5 separate regions of the Homo sapiens genome follow, and regions 1, 2, 3 and 4 are each linked to region 5. Evidence: promoter capture Hi-C in 16 types of primary human blood cells and fetal thymus (Javierre and others, 2016). All regions are on one chromosome and are shown on one strand. The core of a region is centred on a gene start or on the middle of the fragment in contact, and the rest is flanking DNA. Distances in the headings are between cores, read along the strand shown.

Evidence for each region. The method cuts DNA at HindIII sites, captures the fragments that hold promoters and counts their contacts. A CHiCAGO score of 5 or more calls a contact.
Region 1: a fragment that was not itself captured here is called in contact with the fragment with the promoter of COA5 in region 5 in 2 of 17 cell types (non-activated CD4 T cells and naive CD4 T cells); the score reaches 5.9 in non-activated CD4 T cells.
Region 2: a fragment that was not itself captured here is called in contact with the fragment with the promoter of COA5 in region 5 in 2 of 17 cell types (non-activated CD4 T cells and naive CD4 T cells); the score reaches 7.0 in non-activated CD4 T cells.
Region 3: a fragment that was not itself captured here is called in contact with the fragment with the promoter of COA5 in region 5 in 5 of 17 cell types (non-activated CD4 T cells, total CD8 T cells, naive CD4 T cells and 2 more); the score reaches 9.0 in non-activated CD4 T cells.
Region 4: a fragment that was not itself captured here is called in contact with the fragment with the promoter of COA5 in region 5 in 13 of 17 cell types (non-activated CD4 T cells, naive CD4 T cells, activated CD4 T cells and 10 more); the score reaches 18.1 in non-activated CD4 T cells.

Annotation. Positions count from the first base shown.
Region 1 is chr2:98,851,405-98,854,260 of GRCh38, forward strand. All of the region lies in intron 1 of CRACDL (CRACD like), which reads right to left. Among named protein-coding and RNA genes, the nearest start is that of LINC02611, 81 kb to the left of the region's middle. The HindIII fragment of the contact is 3,322 bases long and covers 1-2,856 here.
Region 2 is chr2:98,775,886-98,778,585 of GRCh38, forward strand. No RefSeq gene overlaps it. Among named protein-coding and RNA genes, the nearest start is that of LINC02611, 5.3 kb to the left of the region's middle. RefSeq lists an enhancer at 2,675-2,700. The HindIII fragment of the contact is 3,905 bases long and covers 1-2,700 here.
Region 3 is chr2:98,813,049-98,815,763 of GRCh38, forward strand. All of the region lies in intron 7 of CRACDL (CRACD like), which reads right to left. Among named protein-coding and RNA genes, the nearest start is that of LINC02611, 43 kb to the left of the region's middle. The HindIII fragment of the contact is 277 bases long and covers 1,200-1,476 here.
Region 4 is chr2:98,830,351-98,833,211 of GRCh38, forward strand. It overlaps CRACDL (CRACD like), which reads right to left. Exons shown (of 10, transcript NM_207362.3): 4 at 2,512-2,647; 5 at 1,998-2,162. Among named protein-coding and RNA genes, the nearest start is that of LINC02611, 60 kb to the left of the region's middle. The HindIII fragment of the contact is 4,284 bases long and covers 1-2,861 here.
Region 5 is chr2:98,607,124-98,609,823 of GRCh38, forward strand. It overlaps COA5 (cytochrome c oxidase assembly factor 5), which reads right to left and starts at 1,389. Exons shown (of 3, transcript NM_001008215.3): 1 at 1,184-1,389. The coding sequence starts at 1,282. UNC50 (unc-50 inner nuclear membrane RNA binding protein) reads left to right here and starts at 1,466. Exons shown (of 6, transcript NM_014044.7): 1 at 1,466-1,603; 2 at 2,633-2,700. The coding sequence starts at 2,637. RefSeq lists an enhancer at 541-1,530 and a silencer at 1,594-1,693. The HindIII fragment of the contact is 2,113 bases long and covers 49-2,161 here.

The sequences.
Region 1 (2,856 bases), core at 58-2,557, 240 kb after region 5:
AGCTGTAGAGAGACCCAGAAAGAGTGACTCTTGGTTCACCTTTCCCTTATCAGTTTGAAGAGGTGATTTAATCTACCTGAGGTCAGCGTTAGGGAAGACAGGGAAAACACCCACCTTTATTCAATCTTTACACCTCCCTTTCCAACAGTGCTTTCCCTCACTTTCTTCCCATAGCAGGGTTCTGCCATCTACCCTGCATCACCTTCTCCAGGGTCTCTGTACCCACCAACTTTCAGGTCAGTATCAGCAGTGATGCCCTCTCAGAGCTAAGTATTTTAAATAGAAAACTCCAATGAAAGAAAATAAGTGCCAACATAGATTCTAAACTCCAGAAAAATATCCTTCAAATTTAAAGGTAGGTTAGACTTCCAAGTGGTAGAGTAGCCTACACCACAGTAAAACTTTCCACTGATGATAAGTATAAACTGTGGAGAAAAGATGAAAAACAATCATTTGAAGGCAGTTATGAGCAATTGAAAGCAGAAATTAAAGTGGAATCAACTCTTCTTTTCTTTTTTATTATTTTTTAGTTTTTTATTTTTGGAATCAACACTTAAAAAAAGGGAATTGCAGTAGGAGTGATTTATGTGTGTAGGGCTTTTGACCTGGAAAAGCTCTCAGGTATGTGTGTTGTGGAGTGGCTGGAGCTCAAATACAAAGCCATAATCTTATGGGCTTGATGAATCCAAGAATGGAATTTAGGGCTGCCAGAGCAGATGGAAACTGAGGGAGAATATCTTAGGAAGGAAAAAACTTCAGAGAGAGGAGCACCAAAATCCACATGTAAACCCTATCCTAATTCTTGGCTCCCCTCCCCTGAATTCTGCACATACTGGGGAGACTCCAAGGAACCAGGCAGAAGATAACAGCTGGGAGGCTGAGGGAAATGAACTAAGATTTTTCTACTGCTCACTGCAGGAGAGACAGAGTTCACAGGTAACAAACAGCCTGCTAGAACAAAATCAATAATCTTCGGGACAGCATAGGTTCCAGAGTTCCTATGAAATATCATTTACAATGTCTACCATATAATCAAAATTTACAAAACATGCAAAGAAATAGGAAAATATGACCCATAGTCATGAGAAAAAAAACACCTAAGAAAGAATAATCCTGAGTGACCAAAATGCTTAAATAGCCAACAAAGACTTTAAAGAAGCTACTTAAAACAAAAATGTAGCCATAATATATAAAAAGATAAAGAATTTCAAATTAGAAACATACAATATAAAGAAGAAACACATGGAAATCATCAAGATGAAAACTGTAATTTCTAAAATAAAATATTTATTAAATGGGCTTAACAGCAGATTGAAGACATCAAAAGAAAGGATCAATCAAATTGAAGAGAGATCAATAGAAATGATCCAATCTGAAGAACAGAGAGAAAAAGACTGGGAAAAAAGTGAATCTGAACACAGCCTCAGTGACCAGTGGTGCAGTATTGATTGGTCTAACATATATTTAATTGAGTCCCAGAAACAGGGAGTGGGGGGAGTGTGAAGAAGCAGGAGAGAGAAAGAGGGAAAAGGAGAGAGAAGAAGGAAGGAGAGGGAAGGGGTGGGTGCGGGAGAGAGAGAGAGAGAGGGAGGAGAGGGGAGGGGAGGGGAGGGGAAGGGAAGGGAAAGGGAAGGGAAGGGGAAAGGGAAGGGGGGGCATTAAAAATATTTGGAGAACTTACGAATAAACATTTCTCCAAAATGGTGGAAAAGATAATGTTACAGATCTAAGAATCTTAGCAAACTCCAAGAAAACCACAACAAGGCACATCATAGACCTCACAGAAGTGTGGAACACAGCATAGTGTACTAAAACCAAAGATGAAGAGGAAATCTTGACAACAGCCAGAGAAAAATGACACATCATAAACAGGCAAACAACAATATAAATGACCAACAATGGATAAGAAAAGCCAACAGAATAGTCTCTTTAAAGTGCTGATAGAAAACAAAGAACAACCCAATATTCTATATCCAGAAAAATTATCCTTCAATAATGAAGGCAAAATATAGACATTTTTAGATAAGTGAAAAGTACTTTCACTTATCTAAAAAGTGATATGTACTACACTTTTCTAAAAAGTGATATGTACTGCAGATATGTACTACAGGAAATGCAAAACAAAAGTTTTTTAGGATGAAAGAAAATTATACCAGATTGAAATTGAAAGCTATAGAAAGAATGAAGCATAATGAATGTGGTAAATATGTGGGTAAATATTAAAAAGTACGTGTTTTTCTTTTCTAAATTTATTTAAATGCATATAACAACTAAAAAAACTATTATGAATTTACAATGTATGTAGATGTAATATGTGACTATAACATAAAGGTAGGAGTTGTATGTATGACTAGACTATCACAAGGTTCTGGCATTTTACGTGAAGTGGTACAAGACTAACTCTAAACAGACAGTCACAATTTCAGAATTAATACTGTGATCCCTAGAGAAAACACTAAAAAATTTAATGCAAAGAAGTTTAGCTAAAACGCTAAAATAAAATTTATAATGGAACACCCAAAAATTCAATTAACCCCAAAAAAGGCAGAACAGAGGAACAAAACAAATAGGAAGAACAGAGGAACAAAAACAAAACCAAGCTGGCGCAGTGGCTCACACCTGTAATACCAGCACTTTGGGAGGCCGAGGTGGGTGGATCACGAGGTCAGGAGTTCGAGACCAGTCTGGCCAACATGGTGAAACCTCATCTCTACTAAAAATACAAAAATTAGCTGGGCGTGGTAGTGGGCACCTGTAGTCCCAGTATTCGGGAGGCTGAGGCGGGAGAAGTGCGTGAACCCGGGAGGCAGAAGTTGCAGTGAGCCAAGATCATGCCATTGCACTCCAGCCTGGTGA
Region 2 (2,700 bases), core at 70-2,569, 170 kb after region 5:
GCTCACTAGGCATCAAGGTGCCTGCGGAGTACGCTAGGCATGAGAAAGGTCTCGGGAGGCCGAGAGTGCCTGGCCTGCCCTCTGGCCCCACCCCAGGTCACGCTTGGGGTCCCTGTAGGCTGCTCACTGGTAATGGAGGAAGCCTTCATGGACTTGGGTCCCATCAGGCTGGCTCTCGGAGAAGCCCTGCAGAACTGTGGTTTGGTTTTAATGAGGGGAGAAGATTCCAAAAGTTTATCATGAAAAGCCCCATGACCACCTGTGTTTTAGAGACTTTGATGACTTCAGAGGCCTTGAAATACAATCCCAGAGAAAAACAGTCAGCTTTGGACATGTGTGTTTGTGTGTGCGTGCATGTGTGTGTGTTTTGGTGGGGGATTCCTAATTCTCACCCCCTAGCCTTCCTCCTGAGCTGGAAGCCAGCCTTGAACAGGCAAGGGTGGGTTCTTAACTTCCTCAGAGCTGGCTGAGAACCACAGAGGCAATTCCAAGTCAGATTAAACCCAGAGCCTTGTTCCAGCTTCTGTGTTTAAAGGGAAAGTCATTGTATATTCCTCCTGGATGCCCTCCTGCCCCCAGAGTCTCACTCCTGTGTCTGAACAGTGGGTGACTTCTCTCAGTGAGCATAGTTTTTGTTGATCATGATTTGCCAATCTGTTTCTGAAGTGGGGGGAAATTATAGCTGGTAAATTCTCAGTCTGGACAACACACAATGTCACTTTGCAATAAAATGTGTGAGGACAGATAAGATAGTTATTGTCCTTGCAACATTAGAGATCACCATTAGGTGGTATATTAGTCTAGATTCTCAGAGAAACAGAACCAGTAGCATATAGATATACAATTATGTACTGTATAACAATGTTTTGGTGAATGACAGGCCACATATGCAACAGTATTTTTATTGTGCCTTTTCTCTCTCTTTTTTTTTTTTTTTTGAGATGGAGTCTCTCTCTCTGTTCCCCAGGCTGGAGTGCAGTGGGGTGATCTCGGCTCACTGCAACCTCTGCCTCCTGGCTCCTGGGTTCAAGCGATTCTTTTGCCTCAGCCTCCTGAGTATCTGGGACTACAGGAGTGCACCACCACATCCAGCTAATTTTTGTATTTTTAGAAAAGATGAGGTTTCCTGATTTTGGCCAGGCTGGTCTCAAACTCCCAACCTCAAGTGCTGGGATTACAGGCATGAGCCACTGCGCCCAGCCTTACTGTGCCTTTTCTATGTTTAGATACACAAATACTTACCATTGTGTTACATTGCCTAGAGTGTTCAGTACAGTATCGTGCTGTATAGGTTTGTAGCCCAGGAGCAACAGGCTACACCACAAAGCCTATAGGCTTGTTTAAGTGCGTTCTATGATGTCCACACAATGACTTAATTGCCTAACAATGCGTGTTTCAGAATGTATCCTCATTGTTAAACAATGCATGACTGCATATGAAGAGATTTATTATACGGTATTGGTTCACGTGAGTATGGAGGCTGAGAAGTCCCACAATCTGCTGTCTGCAAGCTGGAGACTCAGGAAAGCTGGTGGTTAATTCAGAGGCCTAAGAGTTGGAGGGTCAATGGTGTAGATTGAGTCTGAAGGCCTGAAAAGCAGGAGCACTGGGGGAAGATGGCAAGCATCAGACAGAGAGATGGCAAATCCTCCTTCCTGCTCCATTTTTATTCTGTTTGGGTCTTCAATAGATTGGGCAATGCCTACCTGTATTGCTGATGGCAATCTGCTTTACTGAGCCCACTAATCCAAATGATAATCTCTTCCAGAAACACCCACACAGACAAATACAGAAATAATGTTTAACCAGCTATCTGGGCAACCAGTGACCTAGTCAAGTTGAAACATAAAATTAACTACCACAAGTGTCATGGTAGCTTTTTTCCCTCTAAGTAGCTAAAATAAAGGTTAGACAATGCCCATTGTACCCTATTACAGAATGAAGGAATGAAGCCTACACTCTTTGGCATTCTGAAAACAGAGTTGCCAGCCAGGTGTGTCCCTGCATCAGCACTGGGAGCTGTTTTTCATTCCCCAGGTCCAACCCTGTCATAAAAGCGCAAGCTGAGCAATTAACAATTTGCAGATGATATTTAAGCAGTGCCTCAGAGGGAAAAGAAAAAAACAACATGCCCTTTCTTTTCTGTTTTTAGTAACATTCTTGGTAACATATTTATGCATTTTGTACAGAGGACATAAGTAAATATTGTGGAAAAACACATTTTATACCTTCCAAGGCCTTAATAATCATGGCAGTTATCAAAGGCCCAAGAAGGCCTCAGCACTAAATCACGTGGCTTCAGAAATGCATGAATAAATCTGTAGTCAAGCCTTTGCAGAGGAAATGTGAACTACAAATCAACTGGCCTCAGACAATTCATTTATTTAATTTGTCCTTTGGATTTACAAAGAGATCCAATTAATTTAGAGATGCTTCCATTGGCACTTGCTGCTCTGGAGGGCCCCTCGCTGAGAATATTGAGTTCCTGGAACCAATGACTCACATCGTTTATTTCTGTGCATTGTGCTCAGCCCCTGGAACCCAGCTTTCCCAATTTTAGAAGGTCAAGGGATTAACCTGTTCAGCATTTTATTTATGTATTTACTTATTTGAGTCTCACTTTGTTGCCCAGGCTGGAGTACGGTGGTGTGATCTTGGCTCACTGCAACCTCCACCTACAGGTTTCAAGTGATTCTCCTG
Region 3 (2,715 bases), core at 88-2,587, 210 kb after region 5:
GGTCAAGGTTCATACTTTTGCCTATGAATATTCCTATGCTTCAGGACCATTTGGTTGTGATGTACAATTTGATAATATTTTGTTAAGAATTTTGCATCTAGGGCAGGCACAGTGGCTCATGCCTGTAATCCCAGCACTTTGGGAGGCTGAGGCAGGTGGATCACCTGAGGTCAGGAGTTTGAGACCAGCTTGACCAACATGGTGAAACCCTGTCTTCACTAAAAATACAAAAAATTGGTCAGGTGTGGTGGTGGGTGCCTGTAATCCTAGCTACTTGGGAGGCTGAGGCAGGAGAATTGCTTGAACCTGGCAGATGGAGGTTGCAGTGAGCCAAGATTGAGCCATTGCACTCCAGCTTGGGCAACAAGAGCAAGACTCTGTCTTAAAAAAAAATTTTGCATCTAAATTCAGAGATACTATAGTATACTAAATTGTACATCACAACCAAATGGTCCTGAAGCATAGGAACATTCATAGGCAAAAGTATGAACCTTGACCTAAGTCTCACATCATATACAAAATGAACTCAAAAGGTGTCATGGACTTAAATGTAAAATGAAAACTATAAAAATTTTAGAAAAAAATATGAGAAAATATAGTATCTCTGAATTTAGTATAGTATACAGAGAGTCTATAGTTTTCTGTATTGTCTTTAATTCCAGTATTACAATCATGCTGGCCTCATAAAACGGGTTGGGAAGTGTTTCCCCTTAGTTTTGCTGAGATTTTGTATAATTGGTGTTATTTCTTCTTTAAATGCTTGGTAGAAATCACCAGTCAAACCACGTGAAAATGGAGTTTTCTGGAAGGTTTTTACCTACAGATTTGATCACTTTAACAGATACAGGACCATTCATGCTATTTTTTAAGTTTGATAGTTTGTGTCTTTCAAGGAATTGGCCCTTTTCTTCTCATTTGTCAAATTTATGTGCGTAGAATTGTTCATAGTATTCCCTTATTATCATTTTAATGCCTATGGAGTCAGTAGTGGCACTCCATAATGTTTGTAATTTGTGTCTTTTTTCCCCTCAGTTTTTAAATCAACTTTATTGGCTATTTTGAAGAACCATCTTTTGGTTTCATCAATTTTTTTTCTATTATTTTTATATTTTCATTTATGTTTGCTCTTATGTTTATTATTTCTTTCCTTCTTGCTTTGAGTTTAGTTTGCTTTTCTTTTTCTAGTTCCTTAAAGTGGAAGCTTAAATTACTGCTTTGAAACATTTTTTCTTTCTAATATAATTTAATGTTGAGTTTCCCTAAGTACCAGTTTATCTGCATTCCACAAATTTTGATATGTTGTATTTTCATTTTAATCCAGTGTTCTAATTTCCCTTGAGACATCCTCTTTGATCCATGGATTATATAGTGGTGTAGTGTTTAATTTCAAATATTTGATGATCTTTTTCATATTTCTTTCCAGATATTTTTCAGATGTTATCAAACTCTTATTTAATTCATTAAGGGCAGAGAACAAGCTTTGAATAATTTCAATTCTTTCGAATTTAATAAGGGCTGTTTAGTGACCTAGAATATGGTCTATCTTCATGAATGTCCCATGTGCACTTGAAAAGAACATGTATTCTGCTGTGGCTGGTGGGCTGTTCTATAAATATCAATTAGGTCAAGTTGGTTGATGATGATGTTCAACCAACTTGACCTAATTGAAATATCCTTTCTGATTTTCTACCTGCTACTTTTCTTGACTACTGACAGAGGAGTGCTAAAGTCTCTACATCTTACTATGGATTTATTTATTTTTCCTTTCAGTACTACCAAGTTTTTGCTTCATGTATTTTGAAGCTCTGTTGTTAGGGACACACACATTTAGTACTCTTATGCATTCTTGATTCACCAATATTACTGAAATTATCATTATATAATGTTCCATTTTATCACTAATAATTGTCCTTTTTCTGAAGTCTTCTTTGTGTTATATGAATATATAGCCACTCCAGCTTTTCCAACTCTAAAATTTCTATCTTTATAGCTTCTATTTTTTTTTTACAGAGAATTTCTATCTTTCCATTAATTCCAAGAGTACTCATTTTTACTTCTTAGAATGTGGCATAATAGTTGCTTTAAAGTCTTTGTCTAATAATTCTAACATTTGAATCCTCTCAGGGTTGGCATTTGTTGATTGCCTTTTTCCTCGAGAATTTTTTAGGCTTTCCTGGTTCTTTGTATGTTGGATAATTTTGGTTCATATCCTACAGATTTTGAATATTATGCTGAGACTTGGTCCTTCTAAAATTCTCAAAAGGTTTTGCTGTGCTCATTCTAGTCAGTTTTATGCATGTGCAGCTCAGGGATGAGCCCAGAACTTCATACACACATTTAAAGGATATCTAACTCAGATGTCTCCTTTCTGTAATCTCCACTCCTCAAGGTTCTACGGCTAGAAAGCCAAGGTTTAGCCTCTCTGCACTGTAGCACCTTCTTGTGACTGGGACCACCTCAGGACAGAGTGGCAAGGGAAAGGAGCCTGCAGGACCCCCAACCACCATACCTGTTGCTGCTGTCTGTGCTAATACGGGGGTATAGCTTCATTTTTGGGTTTCTCTGGGGGTAATGTCTAAAGAGTCAAAAGAGCTCTGACCCATAGGAGCTGCTGTGGGGAGAGGCAGGTACTCACTTGGAGTGCTCTAGGCTGGTGCATACTTGGAGCAGGGCTGGAAGGGCTAAAGGACCGTTGCCCTGCAGAGGGTACTGCTA
Region 4 (2,861 bases), core at 251-2,750, 220 kb after region 5:
TCTGTCTATGTGGGCCTGTGTGTAAGCCTGTGGGTCAGTGTAAGGTATAAACAGTCTGCAGCCCATACTTTTGGGGCTTAAGGCACTATTACATCAAATACCACATATTCTACAAGCCCATTTTAAAGGGTGTGTTGTTTTTCCCTCTTAATCAACCAATTATGCATAAAAACTTTCAGGCCTCAAAATGCAATCATTGTGTCTTCAAAACGATGAAGACACTAAAGATTACCTTTCTGTTTTTAAGTCTTAAAAGCCCAAATTTTGGTTTCCTATGAAGCTGGTAGATTGTCCATATTACCCAATAATTGATAAAATCTCAGAACTTTTTTTTTTTAAATAAAGGACCAACCACAGGAGGTGGTTGTGCTGTGAGAGATAAAGTCAGGCTGGCCCAGCCGAGCCAGCTGTGGAATTTGTGCCTCATAGTGTCACATGGGTTTGGAGATAGGCTTGCTCTTCAATGGATGGGTTAGAAACTACCTCTCCTCTTACTGCCCGTCCTGGCTAAAGGCAGAGAACTGGGATGCTGTGAGAGTCAGAGACCTGTGGGATGGGAGGAGGGGGAGTCCATCTATGATGAGGAAAGAGGCAGCTCATGACAGACCTCTTCCTACTGCATAGCTCAGAAATACACTAAGTCACATCTGCTCCTGAGAGGGGGACGCTGAAACTGCACACAGGAGTATTTGGAGGTGTTAAAAGGGGTACAGGGTTGGCTCGGTGAAGTCTATGAAATAGGCCACCCCATCCTCCTCATCCTTTCTCCCTTCTGCTCGAGGCTGGAGAGCAGGCCTGGGTAGCCCACTGTCCTCAGACCCTGCTCCTGGAATGAGCAGGGACAGCTTCGCCCCAGAGCAGAATTCTGGAGAGAATAATTCTCTAGCCGGCTTCATGTCAGTCCCCACCCCACACACTCAGCCACACCACAGTCCTTTTGCCTTTTTCATCAGTGACGTTCGGGGAACTCACAACTACACACAAAAATTTGGTGTGGCAGGGTGTATAGGTGTCCACACTGAAGTGGCTTCTGAACACAATTCAGAGAAGCACAGAATCTGCAAGGCAGTGAGTCGCAACGAAGCTCCCCCTTCACTGTGAATGGCCCCTCGAGCAGGCCAGAGGTGACAGGGGAAGGTGTGTGGCTATAAAAAATAAACTCTGGCCTTTATTTGTTTTTCAAATGTCAGCATAACAGATAACTCCAACTCTATCCATCCTCCACAGTCAGGCTTGTCTACATGGGAAGGATGACCACCTATTTTTAACATTTATGTGCAAGTACAGTGTATGGGCATTAAGTGTTCTTACCACAATAACATAAAGAATTTAAAATGTGGCAGCATCGCGAGCTATGTTGTTTATGCACGAGAAAGAGCTCGTGCTCTTTTCCGAGTTCCTCGGGGCCCCCCTCTTGGATTCTAATGGAGAAGGTGGTGTTTGGGACTGGTTCCTCCACCCTGCTGAGGTCATCAGTTCCTCTCTTGCTTGTCAACCTTTCCCTGCTGCCCTGTTTGCCAGCAATACAGCACATTACTACCCCTAGGCCAACACCACCTCAAGGTCACAAACTCAGGCACCGGAGACCATCAGAGCCTCAACTATCACATGCTCACTACTTCCCCCTCCCACCGGCCAAATGTCATGGCAACGGAAAACAGATACAACGTGTTTCCCTACTTCTAATGGGGTTCTGGGTCTGGTCATCTGCTCAGACAGGAAAGTCAAGGGACAGGGTTGATTCTGGGTTGATTCTATCAACCTATCACCCTCATTAAAAAAAGTCACCAAAACCACGTCTCCTAACCAGACCTGAATTTCTACTCAAAGAATGAAAATAAACACAGCTCAAGGGCTGATTGTAGGCTCCAGTGACCCAGTTGGCCACACCATGCACAGCCTGGAGATCTTAGGGGCACACACAGGGGATCTCAGAGCTCCAGCACCCTCCAGGGCAGGTGTGGATGAAGACATGCAGTGGTACAGGCCGCACTTGCCTTTATGGTGGTACCAGGACCCACGTCGTGCAGCAGAGACATCTCTGGGGGGCTCCTGGGCAGCCCGTCGTCCTCAGAGCTCATGCCGGCATCCTCTCCCCGCTTGGCAGGAAGCCCCCCTGGAGGAGGTGGTGGCCCCATTTTCACATTACACTGTATTTTTAACTAGATTGGAATAAAGAACATGTGCTCTTATTTTCATCAATGATATTTATCAACAAATCCTCCTGCTCTAATTCATTCATGCTGGAAATGCCTTCAGTATCTTGGTGTGGTGCAGAGAACTGAACTGAACGTGCATCTGCCACCAGCTCTTCCACTGCCATCTCTTCTTTGTTCATCTAAGAATGAGTCGAGATCCCACTGCAGCTCATTTGGTGTGTCCTGGGGGAGCTGTCATGTACATGTGATTCTACTTTACAGCATATCAAATAAACCAAGCAGAAATCATTTAAAAACTTCTTGATGGATATTTGACTTGCACACCAGGCGACATGACCAAGGAAACATTTACCTGCAGAGCTTTAATCCGATCACACACATTTTCTTGGGAAAACACCCGCACAGGCCGAGTAGCGTCCTGTCCGGACTCAGGAATGAAAATACTGTCGTGAGAAAGGGCCCGGCTGCCCAGCGTGCCCCTCGACTCCCTAGGATAAAAGAGCCACTGTGAGACTCTGCCCACCTCCATCTTACTGACCCCTGGGGGGCTCAGAATGAGAAAGAGGGATGTGAGTGAACAGAACATCAAACAACACTCCCTCTGCTGCATTTACATTTCAGTGGTCCCTGACTTCAGTTCATCCACACGCTGTCAAATGCCAGTCAACTATTTGGAGCATTGCAGAGATAGGAATTTTCCTA
Region 5 (2,700 bases), core at 139-2,638:
TATGGCAGGAATTTAGACCCTTAGATGTCTATTTCTCCCATGACACCAAGCTTACATGGGTAGTGACTGTTACTGATTCATCTTCGTTATCACCAGTGTCAGGTACCATGCCTGCCACTTAAGAGGCATTTACCAGGAGCTGGCTGAACGGCAGCACCAGTGAGTAAGGGGCAGAAGGGACACAGCCCTGGACAGGGGAGCCTGAAAACAACGGTACTTCAGTTTCCTCATTTATATAAGGAAGTTGGGCGAGATAATCTCTTAAATTTATAATAACTCAAGTTTTACTAGACATTGGGAGGCGAGAATGGCTGACTGCTAAAATCAGTGAACCAAACAAATTGTGACTCGGTAGAAACACTGGTACAGTCTTACAGTGGATGTCCATTTGGGGGTAATCTTTTCTCTGAAATAACAGCAACTTTCTGAAACTACATCCCCCAATGCAAAGACAATTGCACACAATTGAATGCCCTCTCGTCGGGCCTCTGCAATTGGAAAAGGCACTTGTGCTTTACTTGAGCTCTAATCCAGAACTCAGGTCCACTGTGAACCTCACTACATGTTTCAGTGCATTCCAAGAGGGTGCTGAGGAGACCTGTGTCTGTAGCCGGGGAGTGAAGGAAGAGTGTAGGGGAAGCAAGATACGAAATCGTGAAAATATGGAGTTGCCTTATTTTTACAACTTAACATCCAAGAATGCAGAGAACTGTAACTCAGAAACAAATTCACATCAACACAAGTCAAACTGAGCACACATTGTCACAACTGAACAGGCAGGAGACACTACTGGCCAGGGCAGTGTACCAGGTTTACGCAACTCTCTGGAATCATTAATTCTACAGATTATCATTTCTAGGCAGGCAAGAAACCTGGCTTATTCTCCTTTATGTCTCCAAAGCCTAGTAGAGTGCTAGCATTCAATAAAGGCTTCGTGAACTGAAATGGGTTAACCTTTACAAAAACCCGACAGGGTGCGTTTATCGTTATCTCCGATTTAACCCCACAGGGAACTGGGGCTCCGACAGCTCAGTGGATCTGCGCACGTTCAGTGAGCCCGAGCTGTGACCTACGCCCGGGATGGTTAACTCCAACCGCCGCCGCGGGCGACCCGCTGCCCTCCGCCGAGCCAGGCCTGCCTGGGACAGGGGTCGTCACCACCGGGAGCGCCCGGCCGCGCTACCTGGACCACACAGTCCGACTGCAGCAGACACGCGCCCAGGTCCTCCTTCAGGCCCGCGCACGCGCCGCCCTGCGGCTTGTCCTCATAATACTTAGGCATGACGGCGCTTCCCCTCCGATGCGGACGCGACTTTCTCCCACCGCAACACTTGCAACCGGGTCGGGAGCGAGCGAGGCCCCAGTCTCAGGGGACCGGAAGCCAGCGGCAACAACTTCCGGCGGGCCGCGGCGGTAGGGCCGAGGACTACGGGGGCCGAGAGGTGGCGCGTCCGCGGCGGAAGTCGGTTCCCGTGACGCGGCGCGCCCCAAGGGCCGGCTCCGTTGAGGGAAGGGAAGCCCGCCCGGTGGCGGCTGGGGTCGGCTGCTGGGAGGAGGTGGTGGGCTGGTTCGGACGTGGGTCGAGGCTGTAGCAGGACTCCAGGTGAGGCCTGAGGACCACTCTGCCCTCCCGCGGCCCGGGCTCGCGCCGGGGGCCATTTAATCCCGACAGCTTGCGGCCTGACGTCGCTGCGGCCTGGCAGTGACCATGTCGGCGTCCGGCCCCTCGGCCGGCGATAGAGTTGCGGCTAAAATGAAAGGACGCCCAGTTACATTTGCATCGTAGATAAAGAAAGAGCATTTAGTATAAGCATGTCCGAAATGTTGCGTGGGATGTAGGCATACTAAAACCTTATTCGTGGCCTGTCTGAAATCCAAATGGAGCTGGGTATTCTGTGTTTTTATTTGCTAAATCTGGCAGCCGTACCCGCGGCCCCGGGCAGGGAGGGAGCAGCTGGGCTCGGCCAGACCCTGCCGGCGTCTGGGGGGCCTGCGAAGTGGAGGGGAGACGGGCAGCCGGGCAGTGGCCGGCGTTCCCCGGAGCTCGGACCGGTTGGATTGGACTCCGACGCTACCGCTCCCTCTGCTGAACTATTCCGGATGTAAAACACTAGGGATCGGAGTTTTTCTTGGTTTTTTAATCTCATTCTAGTGACCGAGAAGCTTGCTGGCAGTGCGCTGATGGATCTGTGTGAATAGGCCATTTATTTGACCTCTTCAGTAACACTGTTCTAACCGGCTGAAACTGCTTTCTTAGGCATTTTCTTAAAAGCTTGGTGGTTAAGAGCACGGAATTTCGAGTCAGATTTCCAATCTTGGCTCTATCACTATCCTCGGAGTCATGGGGCAGTCACATCATCCCTGTCTCTGTAATGGTAGCTGCCCCTGGATAAGTGTTATTAGGTGATTCAGAAGGGTGGGCTGTTGCCCTTGCCTGAGGTTGCAGTCTGCGGTTCCCAAGCCCCAAGACCCGCCTCAGAACTAACTGCATTTGCTTTTGACTCCTGGCCTTTCTCTAGGGTTGGGAAGAACATGGAAAGTGACCTCCCTGCCAAATAACTCAGAAGAGGAGTGTCGGTAGCCAAATGTTTCTTCAGAATACGTGTAAAAGAAATGTTTTTCTTCCATCTAGGAAGATGTTACCGAGTACTTCAGTGAATTCCTTAGTGCAGGGGAACGGAGTCTTGAATTCCAGGGATG